2 separate regions of the Homo sapiens genome follow, and region 1 is linked to region 2. Evidence: promoter capture Hi-C in human tissues and cell types (Jung and others, 2019). All regions are on one chromosome and are shown on one strand. The core of a region is centred on a gene start or on the middle of the fragment in contact, and the rest is flanking DNA. Distances in the headings are between cores, read along the strand shown. Region 1 holds the start of TIMM13 (translocase of inner mitochondrial membrane 13). Region 2 holds the start of ZNF77 (zinc finger protein 77).

Region 1 (5,644 bases), core at 3,145-5,644, 520 kb after region 2:
TGGTAGGGGCCACTGGCTGGCCCACGTCCCTGGAACCAGAGGTGACCCTGATGGGGCCATTGTTATTGGGTCCTCAGGTGTGGGCAGCTGGTGCGGGGGTGGCCCACAGCCCCCCCTCGACGCTGGTGTGGAAGGGCCAGAGCAGCTGGGGCACGGGCGAGAGCTTCCGCACCGTCCTGGTTAACGCGGATGGCGAGGTGGGTGTGTGTGGCTTGGGGGGTGCTCGGCTGGAGTCCTGGGCAGGGTCTGGGCACCCTCGGGGCCGCCACAGCAGCTCTGGGCCCGATCCCGGGACATGCCGCCGTGTCCTGTCCCGCACAGGAAGTGGCCATGAGGACTGTGAAGAAGTCCTCGGTGATGCGTGAGAATGAGAATGGGGAGGAAGAGGAGGAGGAAGCCGAGTTTGGCGAGGAGGATCTTTTCCACCAACAGGTAGGACCCCTGTGCCCACTTGCGGCTGGGGGGCAGCCTCTGGGGCAGAGTGAGCTCGTGCACACACATACACATGCGTGCTGGCCGCATCCCCGACGGGAGCTCCATCTGGCTGCCGTGGCTCAGGGTGAAGCCAGCCTTGGCTGTTACCAGCACGGCAGAGACCTGTTCTTGCCTCCTGGGTCGTGCCCATCGTGTGAATTTGCGACATCACAGACCTCAGGGTAGCTGGCCAGGGGGTCCCCTGAGAGGTGGGTGTTGAACAGCTCCCCAAATGCTCTCTGGTCAACCGGCTTCCTCAGTCGAAGACACAGGTCCCTTCAATACTGGCTTCTGGGGAGAAGATGAGTGCAGAAACCACAGCTGCATTAAACGCGTGCGTCGCAAGTTCCTGTGACTGTTTTGGAACCCAGAACAGAATGTGTAGCTCACAGGCGGGCTCATGGGGACATGGAAGTGGAATGGAAGGCTCTAGAAATAGACACTGTTGTTGCTCAGCCCCTCCCTGGTGGGGAGGTGGGGGCAGCCATCTACCTGCCGGCTGCCTCCAGGCTGGCCCTGATCATGGCCGACCTTCCTTCCTTCCTTCCTGCAGGGGGACCCGAGGACCACCTCAAGAGGCTGCTACGTGATGTGAACCCACACTCCTCATCCACACACCTTTCTTTACCCAGAGCCACTGAAAACTATTTTTATATCATTGGCTTTCTTTAGTTCTTGATACATTTCTAGAGAATTTCTAAGCGAACTGCCAGAACGTGTGGGTGGGTCTCCCCCAGCCCTCCCTCCTGGCGGGTCTCCTCCAGCCTCACTTCGCTGCCACTTCGCCGCTGCCCCGGAGACTTTTCAATCCCACCCCACTCCTCATCTCACCATTTGGTCAAATTGGAAGCCCAGGGCCAGGACCCGGAGGTTTAGAAGATGCTTGGGCTTGGAGGGAGGAGGGCCGGCGAGGCTAGCGAGGGGACAGGAGACGGCCCTGCTGCGGACGGAGCGCGGAAACTGCGTAGGAATTCAGTGGTGGTGGGTTTTTTTAAGGCTTTCTACAAAACCAAATTCAGAATCCAGGCGTCGACCTGGTGGGGCCCGGGGCCAAGCCTGCATTCTGGCTGCCCAGCTTCGGACAGCGGGAACTCCTCAGGCAGCCACGCAGCGGGTGTGGGCCAGCATGGGGATGGCGTGGCCCCCAGGGCGGGTTTTCACTCCGCTGCCTGGGCTTCCAGATTCCCGTTCTGGCAGCGCACCGGCCGGGTTTCTCGGACCGTTGACTTTATTTGGGGGAGTTTTCCCGCAGTTCAGTTCCTGACTGTGCAAGGCCAACAGGGCAGGGGAGGGGAAGACCTGGGGAAGGAAGAATGAGGACAGTCCCGTCGTAAGACCTGTCACAACAATAAGCAGGGAGGGGAGATGTGGAGGGGACACATCTGGTTGCCTTGGAGGCAGAAGCTGTGAGTTTCAGAACAGCTGTCTGCAGGGAACGCCACCATGTTGACCCTCTGGAGGAGAGCGCTGTGGAGCCCCTCCCGTGTTCCAGCTCCGTCTGCCCTGTGCCTATATATACACATGCGTCTATCCATACTGTGCTTTTATCTGTGATTTTCTCGCTGAAACCATGTTTCTCAGACAGGCCAAGGCCACCTGACTCCTATCACGACGCACCCAAGCCCCTCAGTCCAGCTTCCCAATGCCTGGCACCCCCCTTCGGCAATAGCTCACCGTTTACACCCTCCCTCATAGATACACAGAAGTTATTTTTTTAATGGATATTTATTTTTTTACATTGGTCAGTACACAGGTCAGGAGCTCACGCCAGGGCCTTGAGGACAGGCTGACCCTCCTCCCCGGGGTGGCGTGGGGCTGGGGCACCCTCCGACGGCAGAGCCTCCTTCAGAAAGTGCAGCTCAAGTCTTAAAGACACCAAAACTGAGCCATGGGCACGCGCCGTCTCCGGGCCATGGCGTTCACTGCAGGGCGGGGGCGGCACCGCTCCCCTGTGACTGCATCCCGCCTCCCTGGGGACCTGCCTGTGGCAGGAAGGAATGGGGGGCCCCAGCCCCAGGCCGGGAAGGAGCCAGCGGCCGACAAAGCAGAAACACCCGCTGCTCCACGTAGCCCCTGCTCGCTGTCCTTGCTCTCAGAAGTCCCGGTCCCATGTAGATAGAGGGGGGCGCATCTTACCAAAGCATTTCCTCCTGGAGGCTACGCCGCTGTGCTCCCAGTCAGGCGGCTGGTAGGGAGCTTTGCCTGCCCCGGGGATACCCTCTGCCAGCCGCTGGAAGTGGGAATGCTGGCGACAGACTGTGTCCTCTTTCCCACCTTCATAGCAGGAATCACCCGGACCCGACTGGCTGGGCTTCGTGCTAGCGAGGGTTCTGGGGGTGGGTCTTGGTGATCTTGTCCTATGGGGAGTCTGCAGTGGTCTCAGCCACATCCTATGTATTTTGGCTCTGGAGGAGCAAAGCTGTATCCTGGAGTTGGTCTGTGATTTGCCGACAGCCTTGCAGGCTGGGCTCAGGGACAAAGTCCCCCCCAAAACCCGCAGGTCCTCATGTCCAGACGCTGCCCAGTCCTGTCCTGAAAACAGCACGCCCCAGGCCCACAGAACCCCCCACCCTACATTTGCCTTGGGTGGAGCTGGGGGTGGTCCTAGGACTGCGGGTGCCCTTAGCTGAAGGGGGTGGGGAGAAGCGTGGACTGGGCAGCCTGTGGGTAATTGGAGGTTCATTGAGAATTGAGTCTTTGGAAACACTAAGAAAATCAAATTTTTAAAAGTTATTTATGGCCTGGGAAACAATTTGCATTTGTCCCCAAATACGCTTAGCTGTGTGCCGCTTAGAACGATGCGAAACCATCCCTCTGTGTAAGCCCGTGCCGTGTGACTCGAAGCCTAGCGCCCTCCCTGCGAAGCATCAGACGCCACCCAGCCCTGGGGGGAGGCCCACGCCTGCTGGACCAACGCGGGTTCTGGGGTGCACAGCGCCAGGTTAACGCTGAAGCCTGCCCCGCTGAGCCCAGGAGCCGGGAGGCCTGCGGGCTGACCCAGAATCCGATCATGCACCTGTCCTCATGCCAGCGGCTTTGGCTGGGGTTGGTCTGAAGCCTGCACGCGGCAGTTCTTTGTTAAAGATCTGAGGGACTCCTCAGTCCTGGGGCGTCGCCGCCTGCAGCCTCTTCCAAGCCCTGCGTCCAGCGAGCGTCACAGCACAACCTGCAAAAACGGAGCTGGGCTGCAGCTGGGGCTGGCATGGACTTTCATTTCAGAGATTCGGTTTTTAAGAAGATGCATGCCTAATGTGTTCTTTTTTTTTTCCAATGATTTGTAATATACATTTTATGACTGGAAACTTTTTTGTACAACACTCCAATAAACATTTTGATTTTAGGTTCTGCCTCTGAGTTTATTCCTGAGGGGAAGCTCGAGCCGGGGCCTCTGCCCTAATGAAGCGGATGTCTAAGAAAGATCCCTCCACCCCCAAGGAAAAAGGTCACTGGCTAGTGTAGCTAGTGTAAACAGGACCCAGGCGATGCATGGGACCCTGCCCTTTTTTTTCTAGTGAGCCTCCGACGCTGTTGCACAAGCTGACTCTTCGTCACGTGATGCGACCGGGCTCCGCCCCGGCGGCAACACGCTGTATAGACGCGCCGGGTGCCTCGTGCGCATGCGCGGCAGGCCCTTCGGGACGAGCTGGAGGCAGAGCGTGAGTACAAAGTGATCGGCCTCGGCCGCACGTAGTAGCCCCCCTACTCCCCGGCCAAGTCAGGGCCTCCCTCTTCCCGCGGAGTCGCAACCACGGGTAGCTCGTGTAGGTAACGGCAGGTCCAGGCCTCCGCATGAGCGGAGGGCCCCCCGCGCGACCTTGAATGGCCCGGGCGCGCGCGGTCGTGTGGGAGTTGTAGTCCTCCGTCCCCGTCCGCGCGGACTCCGTTTCCCGTGGTGCCCCGGGCGGCCCGCTTCCGGCGCAGTTAGTTACGAGTCGGCGCACGCGGCCTCGGTCCGGTTGACTTTGCGGAGCCATGGAGGGCGGCTTCGGCTCCGATTTCGGGGGCTCCGGCAGCGGGAAGCTGGACCCAGGGCTCATAATGGAGCAGGTGAAAGTGCAGATCGCCGTGGCCAACGCGCAGGAGCTGCTGCAGGTGCGGGGCTGGCCGGGGACGGGCGCTGGGGGCGACAGGGCCACCCCTGGGGGCCGACGTCGCGGCTAAAGCCTCGCGTGTCTCCACAGAGGATGACGGACAAGTGTTTCCGGAAGTGTATAGGGAAACCTGGGGGCTCCCTGGACAACTCCGAGCAGGTGAGACCCGCGGAGGTTCGGGGCAAGGGTCGCGAGGGCCTAGATTCGAGGGGGGAGGTGTCTGCGCGTGCGCAGACTAACGGGGAGGTGCGACGGAGTGGTCACTGCACGTGCGTAGTCTGCAGCCCGGGCGTCCTGGAGCCGGGGTCAGGGCGGTCCCCGGGGCCGCGAAGTCCCGAGCTGAGCCGTGCGCCCCTCCGCTCCCGCAGAAGTGCATCGCCATGTGCATGGACCGCTACATGGACGCCTGGAACACCGTGTCTCGCGCCTACAACTCGCGGCTGCAGCGGGAACGAGCCAACATGTGACCGGCGAGCGCGGGCCACCCCACCCTGTTCATTTCCATAAACGTGCTTTGAGAGGCGGGGTCCGCATGTACGTACTGCCTGCCCGGGGCTTAGGAGGGTGGCACCGGTGCTGGGACACACGGGACTGTGTCCTCGCCACCCCCCGCCCTGCCCCCTGCCAGCCAGTGCAGCTTGGATCTCGGGGGTGTGGGGCCCTGTGCCTTCCTGAAGTGCTGGCAGCCCAGTGGCACCTCCTTCAGGCCTTTGGGGTATTCCCCTAGTGTGCCCAAGTCAGCCTCATATTCTGGGCGGACAGCTTGTCTGGACTTCGGAGTTGGGGGTGGTCAGACACCACAGGAGCTGTCACCTCCTGCGGATGGGCAAATAAATTGGTGGAGGACGGAGAGAAACCTCTTTATTTCCCTCCTGAGGGGTCTCTGGGAAGAGGTGACGCGTGTCCCTGGAACCCCAGCTCGGAGGGTCTCAGCCTCCCCTGGGTTGGGAGAAGTCCATCTTTCCCCTTAGTGCCACCGGGCTGCTGAGTCACGAGGAATGTGTTGCTGCTGCCACCCCTGCCCCAAAGGCTAAGGGGGACAGCCTTCCCCTTGTCAGGGCTTGCTTTGACCCTGCTTC
Region 2 (6,252 bases), core at 3,185-5,684:
CATCCAGTGGATGAGGAGGTCTAGGGTGCTGCTCAACACCCTGCAATGAATAGCACGCCAGTCTTTTGGATTTGAGCCCACCTTAATCTCATTTTAATCGAATTGCCTCTTTAAAGGCCTATCTTCAAATACCTTCTGAGGTACTGTGGGTTAGGCCTTCACCTTACGGATTTGTGGGGACGCAATTCACCCGTTAACGCTATACATACACAAAAATTCATAGACTACACCTCAAAAGAAAAATTCAACATGACCATATAATACTATAAAATAAAAGAAGATGCAATACCTGGTTTGGGGTTGGATCTTCGGAGGACCAGCTGTAAAGACCATTTGGGGTATAATTGAAGGAAATACGATTATGGGCTAGGTATAAAGGAATGATTGTTAACTATCTAAAGTGCGAATATGAAGTGTGGACTTTTAGATAAAAATACAGATTTTTCTCTAAAATAGCATTTGGGAGGTGTTTAAGAGCAGAGTGTTACAGTGTCCTCAATTTACTTTTTTTTTTTTTTTTGAGACGGAGTCTCGAGCTGTCGCCCAGGCTGGAGTGCAGTGGTGTGATCTCGGCTCACTGCAGCCTCCACCTCCCGGGTTCAAGTGATTCTCCTGCCTCACCCTCCCGAGTAGCTGGGACTACAGGTGCCCGCCACCACACCCAGCTAATTTTTGTATTTTTAGTAGAGATGGGGTTTCACCATCTTGGCCAGGCTACTCTTGAACTCCTGACCTCGTGACCCGCCTGCCTCGGCCTCCCAAAGTGCTGGGATTACAGGCGTAAGCCACTGCCCCCAGCCACTCAATTGACTTTGAAATAATTCTTTTTTTTTTTTTTTTTTTGAGACAGAGTTTTGCTCTGTTGCCCAGGATAGAGTACAATGGCGTGATCTCAGCTCAACGCAAGCTCCGCCTCCTGGGTTCACGCCATTCTCCTGCCTCAGCCTTCCGAGTAGCTGGGACTACAGGCACTCGCCACCACGCCCAGCTGATTTTTTGTATTTTTAGTAGAGACGGGGTTTCACCATGTTAGCCAGGATGGTCTTGATCTCCTGACCTTGTGATCCGCCCAACTCGGCCTCCCAAAGTGCTGGGATTACAGACGTGAGCCACCGCACCCTGCGACTTTGAAATAATTCTATGTAGATATTGGCTGTCAGTCGGCTAGAACAATTGATCAGGAAACATCTCTGTCTTCACAAATTACCTGATATGTTGAGTAATGTGAGTATAACACGAATTTCATATTTGTTTATGTTCAGTTTCAACCCTAAGAAACACTAAGTGAACAGAAGAAATTGCACATAACTGAAGAGTCTGGTAGGAAAACAGAAAATGCGCGCACACACCTCAAATACCAAGTCACACTGTTTCCTCTGCTTTAAAACTTAACATTAGATTTCCGACAACCCTCTCTCCACCACTGCATACTAACTCTGGAAATTTAGATTCCCTTGCCCAATTCCACAAGCAACCTTTGGATCTTCTGCAAGGTACGTTGCTACATTTATTATAGTATTTATGTGTTTCTTTTCCTTTTTTTTTTTTTTTTTTTGAGACAGAGTTTTGATCTTGTTGCCCAGGCTGGAGTGCAGTGGCATGATCTCGGCTCACTGCAACCTCCACCTCCTGGGTTCAAGTGATTCTCCTGCCTCAGCCTCCCGATTAGCGGGGGTTCCAGGCATTTGCCACCATGTCCAGCTCATTTTTGTATTTTTAGTAGAGATGGGGTTTCTCCATGTTTGTCAGGGTGGTCTCGGACTTTGGACCTCAGGTGATCTGCCCACCTTGGCATCCCAAAGTGCTGGGATTACAGGCGTGAGCCACCGCGCCCGGCCTATTTATGTGTTTCTTAATGATGTAAGGTGAAAAGCTGTGCTACTGTTTACTTCTTCAGGGACTCTGATAATAGGCATGTTTTTCTTTCCTGTCTTTTGTTCCCACTGCTTCCTCTCTGACAGTTATTCCACTGTTTCCTATCACTTCCAATTTCTTTGTAGTTTCCTTGCCTCTTATCTTTGACACAATGTGAGTATCCTAAGCTTCATTAATATCCATTGATGAAGGCTGAGGCAAGCGGATCACTTGAGGTCAGGAGTTCCAGACCAACTTGGCCAGCATGGTGAAACCCCATCTCTACCAAAAAATACAAAAATCTGCCAGGCATGGTGGTGCAACATAAGACAAGCTTTGAGTAGCAAAAGATTGGAAACAAGTCCACTGTCTATTTAGAGAGACCTTGTTACATCAGCTTACATCATCTTACATCTGTAAGGAGTAAGGAAGTCACCTATTAAGATGAAGAGAGGTGGAGGATTTATTTTTTTCATTGAGCCACAAAAACAATTGTAATGCAATGTGTACACCATGGTACTTTTTAAAAATAATAAAGCGGGGGGAAACAAAACGTGTCGTTCAAATGGCGTTTTTTTGTTTGTTTTTGTTTTGAGATGGAGTCTCGCTCTGTCACCCAGGCGGAGTGCAGTGGTGCGATCTTGGGTCTGCAATCCCCGCCTCCCGGGCTCTAGTGATTCTCCTGCCTCAGCCTCCCAAGTAGTTGGGATTACAGGCATGTGCCACCACGCCCGGCTAATTTTTATATTTTTAGTAGAGACAAGGGTTTTGCCATGTTGGCCAGGCTGGTCTCGAACTCTTGACCTCAGGTGATCCACCTGCCTCAGCCTCCCAAAGTGCTGGGATTATAGGCGTGAGCCACTGCGCCCGGCCCTAGAGAATTTCTTAAAGTAAAAGGCTGTACTGTTCCTATGGTAATTGAATTCTTATTTTAACTCATTTGAGAAAATAATCATAGAAGTTTAAATAAATTTGAACTCGACGTGAAAATTCTGAATACTTTTATTCAGTTGAGCCGCAATTCCTAAAGCCTGGAACGCGACTGCTCATCTCCGAAAAGACTTTCCAGCTTGAGACAGAGTAGAAGTATAAACTCTATATCGCTTGCCATTTTACATACAAACATAATTGTCGTAATTCATGTTTTTACTGTGTCGACCTAAATAACAGGCTGTCTAAAAACGGTGGTAACAGTTCATTGCAGTGGGAATATGCGCGGCATAGCAAACTATGTGCTTATTCAGGGAGGTAAAGGAAGACAAAGGTTGTTTTTGGTTTTCATTTTTTTGAGACGGGGGTCTCTGTTGCCCAGGCTGGAGTACAATGGTGAGATCACAGCTCACTGCAGCCTCAATCCCCACGGGCTCGAGCGATCCTCCTGCTTCAGCCTATCAAGTCGTTGGGACCATAGGCGCACACTCCTTTATTCCCAGCTAATTTTTGTATTTTTTGTATATATGGGGTTTTGCCATGTTGCCCAGACTGGGACAAAGGTTTATAAAGGAAAAAAAAAATTTTAAATGAGGATTACATCATTTTTCAGAAATAATTATCCTTGTCTACAAAGATCAGTAACAAGGGTCACACCAGTCTGAGTGTCCCTGTAAAAGTATTTTTTGTTTAAGCCTGTGGTTTTTGTAGAGTCTTTTTCGTTATTAAGCATATAAATGTGAGACCTCTCTCTTCATGACCTTACGTGGTTCTGTTTGTGGGAGGGCTGCTTTTTTTTTTTTTGAGACTCAGTTTCGCTCTTGTTGCCCAGGCTGGAGTGCAGTGTCCTGATCTTGGCTCACTGCAATCTCCGCCTCCTGGGTTCAAGCGATTCTCCTGCCTCAGCCTCCGGAGTAGCTGGGATTACAGGCGCCCGCCACCGTGCCCAGCTAATTTTTGTATTTTTAGGAGAGAAGTGGTTTTCGCCATTTTGGTCAGGCTGGACTTGAACTCCTGACCTCTGATGATCCGCCGGTCTCCGCCTCTCACGGTGCTGGGATTACCGGCGTGAACCACCGCGCCCGGCCGAGAGTTTTAAGAACACAGGGAGCGCCTGGTGGGGTCCGGCCTCCTGGGGCCTCGTCGTCTGGTCTCCAGATCTCCAGGTCTCTGGACCCCAGGCGTCCGCGCCCACGCGGGACAGCACGGTGACGTCACGCACGCGGGTCCCGCCCCCACGCAGGACTCCGCCCCATGGGACTCCGTGCCCTTCCTCTCCTCCCCGCACGAGGGGCCGCTCCGAGGGGAAACTGAGTCTGGAGTTGCCGTGCAGTCAGGGAGGAGGACGCCGCGCCCTCCCTGGACTGGAGTGAGTTCTCCCAGATCCGCGGCTGCCCGGCTAGAGGGTCAGCCACGCGTGTTCTCGACGAGCCCGTCACTGAGGAGAGAATTATCCAATCAGGACAGGCAGGGGCGGGGCCTAGGGAACTGTCCAATCAGAGACGTTAATCCGAAGCGGAGCCCTGCCCAATCAAGGGCGCTAGGGGGACGGACTGGAGAATTCTCCAATCAGGGGTGCGGAGTCGACAGCACTGTCCAATCAGAGTCTCCACTTCCCGAGATCTGTCCAATCAGACCCCGAGGACGGTAAGCCGAGTTCCCCTCTGCCTTGCGCGCTTCCCCGCCTACCCCGAGCGGCTCAGGTGTCCTGTCGTGCTCACCTGCGCCGGTCGCTGGACCGCGGGGCGCTAACCCTGGAGAGCCCAGGAGCGGGCGGGACATGGTGAGTGCCGGGCGGGAGCCGAGCCCGGGCCCAGGGCGAGGTGGGGCGGCAGGAACCGGCTTCCGCCCGAGTTCGCAGCCGGAGAAAGCTGAGGGACGCGCGGGGCGGCGCACGACGAGCGCCTGGGCCCCGGGGACGTGGTCACAGCGGCCGAGGGGTAGGGCTGGGGGCAGTCTGGGGTGACAGCAAAAGCGGTCAGGGGCTCGAGGGGTAGTTTCTGGGGACAGTACAGGTCAGGAGTTTGGGGAGAGCTTGTGGGGACAGCAGAGGTGGTCAGGGGCTTGAGGCAATTTAAGTGGACAGTAGAGGTTTAAGGGGCACAGGGGCAGTTTGCGGGAACAGACACGGTCAGGGGCTCGGCGGCAGTTTGGGGGTTCAGTGGAAGGGAGTCAGGCTCAAGGGCAGATTAGGGGGCCAATAGCAGCGGTCAGGAACTCGGGGACAGTTTGAGGGGGCCGTAGAGGCGGTCATGGGTTTGAAGGGGCAGTTTTGGGGGACAGGTGATCAGGGGCTCGAAGGCAGTTTAGGGGGACAGTAGCTGCAGTCGGGAGTTTGGGGGCAGCTCGAGGGGACAGCAGAAGCAGTCAGGGGCTCAGGGGCACTTTAAGGGGGGCAGTAGAGGCGATCAGGGGCTTGAGGGAAGTTTGGGGGGACAGTAAAGGGAGTCGGGCTCGAGGGATGTGTTGGGGGACAGTAGAGGCAGTCAGGGGATCGGGGAGAGTGGGAGGAGAGGGCAGGAGCCGTCAGGGGCTTGGTGGTCAGTTTGGGAAGGTCTGCCAAGGAGGAGGTGGTGCCCTGTCCTGGAGCCTGTCAAATAATAAAATCCTGGGCCGGGCGCGGTGGCTCACGCCTGTAATCCCAGCACTTTGGGAGGCCGAGGCGGGCGGATCACCTGAGGTCAGGAGTTCCAGACCAGCCTGGACAACATGGCGAAATCCCGTCTCTACTAAAAATACAAAAATTAGCCCGGCGTGGTGGCGGGCGCCTGCAATCCCAGCTACCAGGGAGGCTGAGACAGGAGAATGGCGTGAACCTGGGAGGTGGAGCTTGCAGTGAGCCGACATGGCGCCGCTGCACTCCAGCCTGGCGACAGAGAAAGACTCCGTCTCAAAAACAAAAACCAAAAAAAAAAAAAAAAAAAAAAATCCTGGCTAGAGAAGGAGAGAGAAAAATAGGGATAAGCCCCAGCCTCCGAAACCTGCCAGGTCTCAAAATCAACCAGGAAAAGGCTTTACTTTCATACACAAGAAAAGGTTTGGAGGAACGTTTTAGGGGACAAGCAGAAAGGAGGTTGACAGTAAATGTACCTCCTCGTGGTCAGCTAGCTCAGGGGAGGTGACAGGGGACTCCACACTTACTGCTTGCTCAGACTCGGGGGGGCCAAAGTTCAGGGGCCTGCGGAGAGGACAGAAGGCTGAGTAAAGTTTGGGGAAGAAACGGGAGGCTGCGAACATGTGGTCAAGCTTGTGTAAACCCAAACGTAGTAAGGAAACTTTTATGAAAAAGGATTATTGCGAGGTATTGGGGGAGGGGGAGAAGGGGCTGTTGCAATAGGGAGAAGGGTTAGTTGGATTAGAGGCAGGAGAGTAATGCCAGAGGCTTGAGGTTCTATTGCAGTGGGGTGGGGGTATAAGCAACAGGGGCATGGGGACAGTTGATGATTGAGCTGCGGGACTAATGCTGTA

The links. The method cuts DNA at HindIII sites, captures the fragments that hold promoters and counts their contacts. A contact is called where the count stands out against the background at its distance.
Region 1: the fragment with the promoter of TIMM13 here is called in contact with the fragment with the promoter of ZNF77 in region 2 in 3 of the 25 tissues and cell types used here (dorsolateral prefrontal cortex, psoas muscle and spleen).

What each region holds. Positions count from the first base shown.
Region 1 is chr19:2,426,336-2,431,979 of GRCh38, reverse strand. It overlaps TIMM13 (translocase of inner mitochondrial membrane 13), which reads left to right and starts at 4,394. Exons shown (of 3, transcript NM_012458.4): 1 at 4,394-4,566; 2 at 4,656-4,724; 3 at 4,934-5,644. The coding sequence starts at 4,447. The coding sequence ends at 5,032. LMNB2 (lamin B2) reads left to right here. Exons shown (of 12, transcript NM_032737.4): 10 at 78-197; 11 at 322-432; 12 at 1,028-3,814. The coding sequence ends at 1,069. RefSeq lists enhancers at 3,924-4,073, 4,158-4,903, 4,904-5,644 and a silencer at 4,624-4,713. The HindIII fragment of the contact is 21,330 bases long and covers 1-5,644 here.
Region 2 is chr19:2,943,153-2,949,404 of GRCh38, reverse strand. ZNF77 (zinc finger protein 77) reads left to right here and starts at 4,434. Exons shown (of 4, transcript NM_021217.3): 1 at 4,434-4,567. The coding sequence starts at 4,565. RefSeq lists an enhancer at 4,039-4,198 and silencers at 4,269-4,518, 4,659-4,738. The HindIII fragment of the contact is 6,632 bases long and covers 602-6,252 here.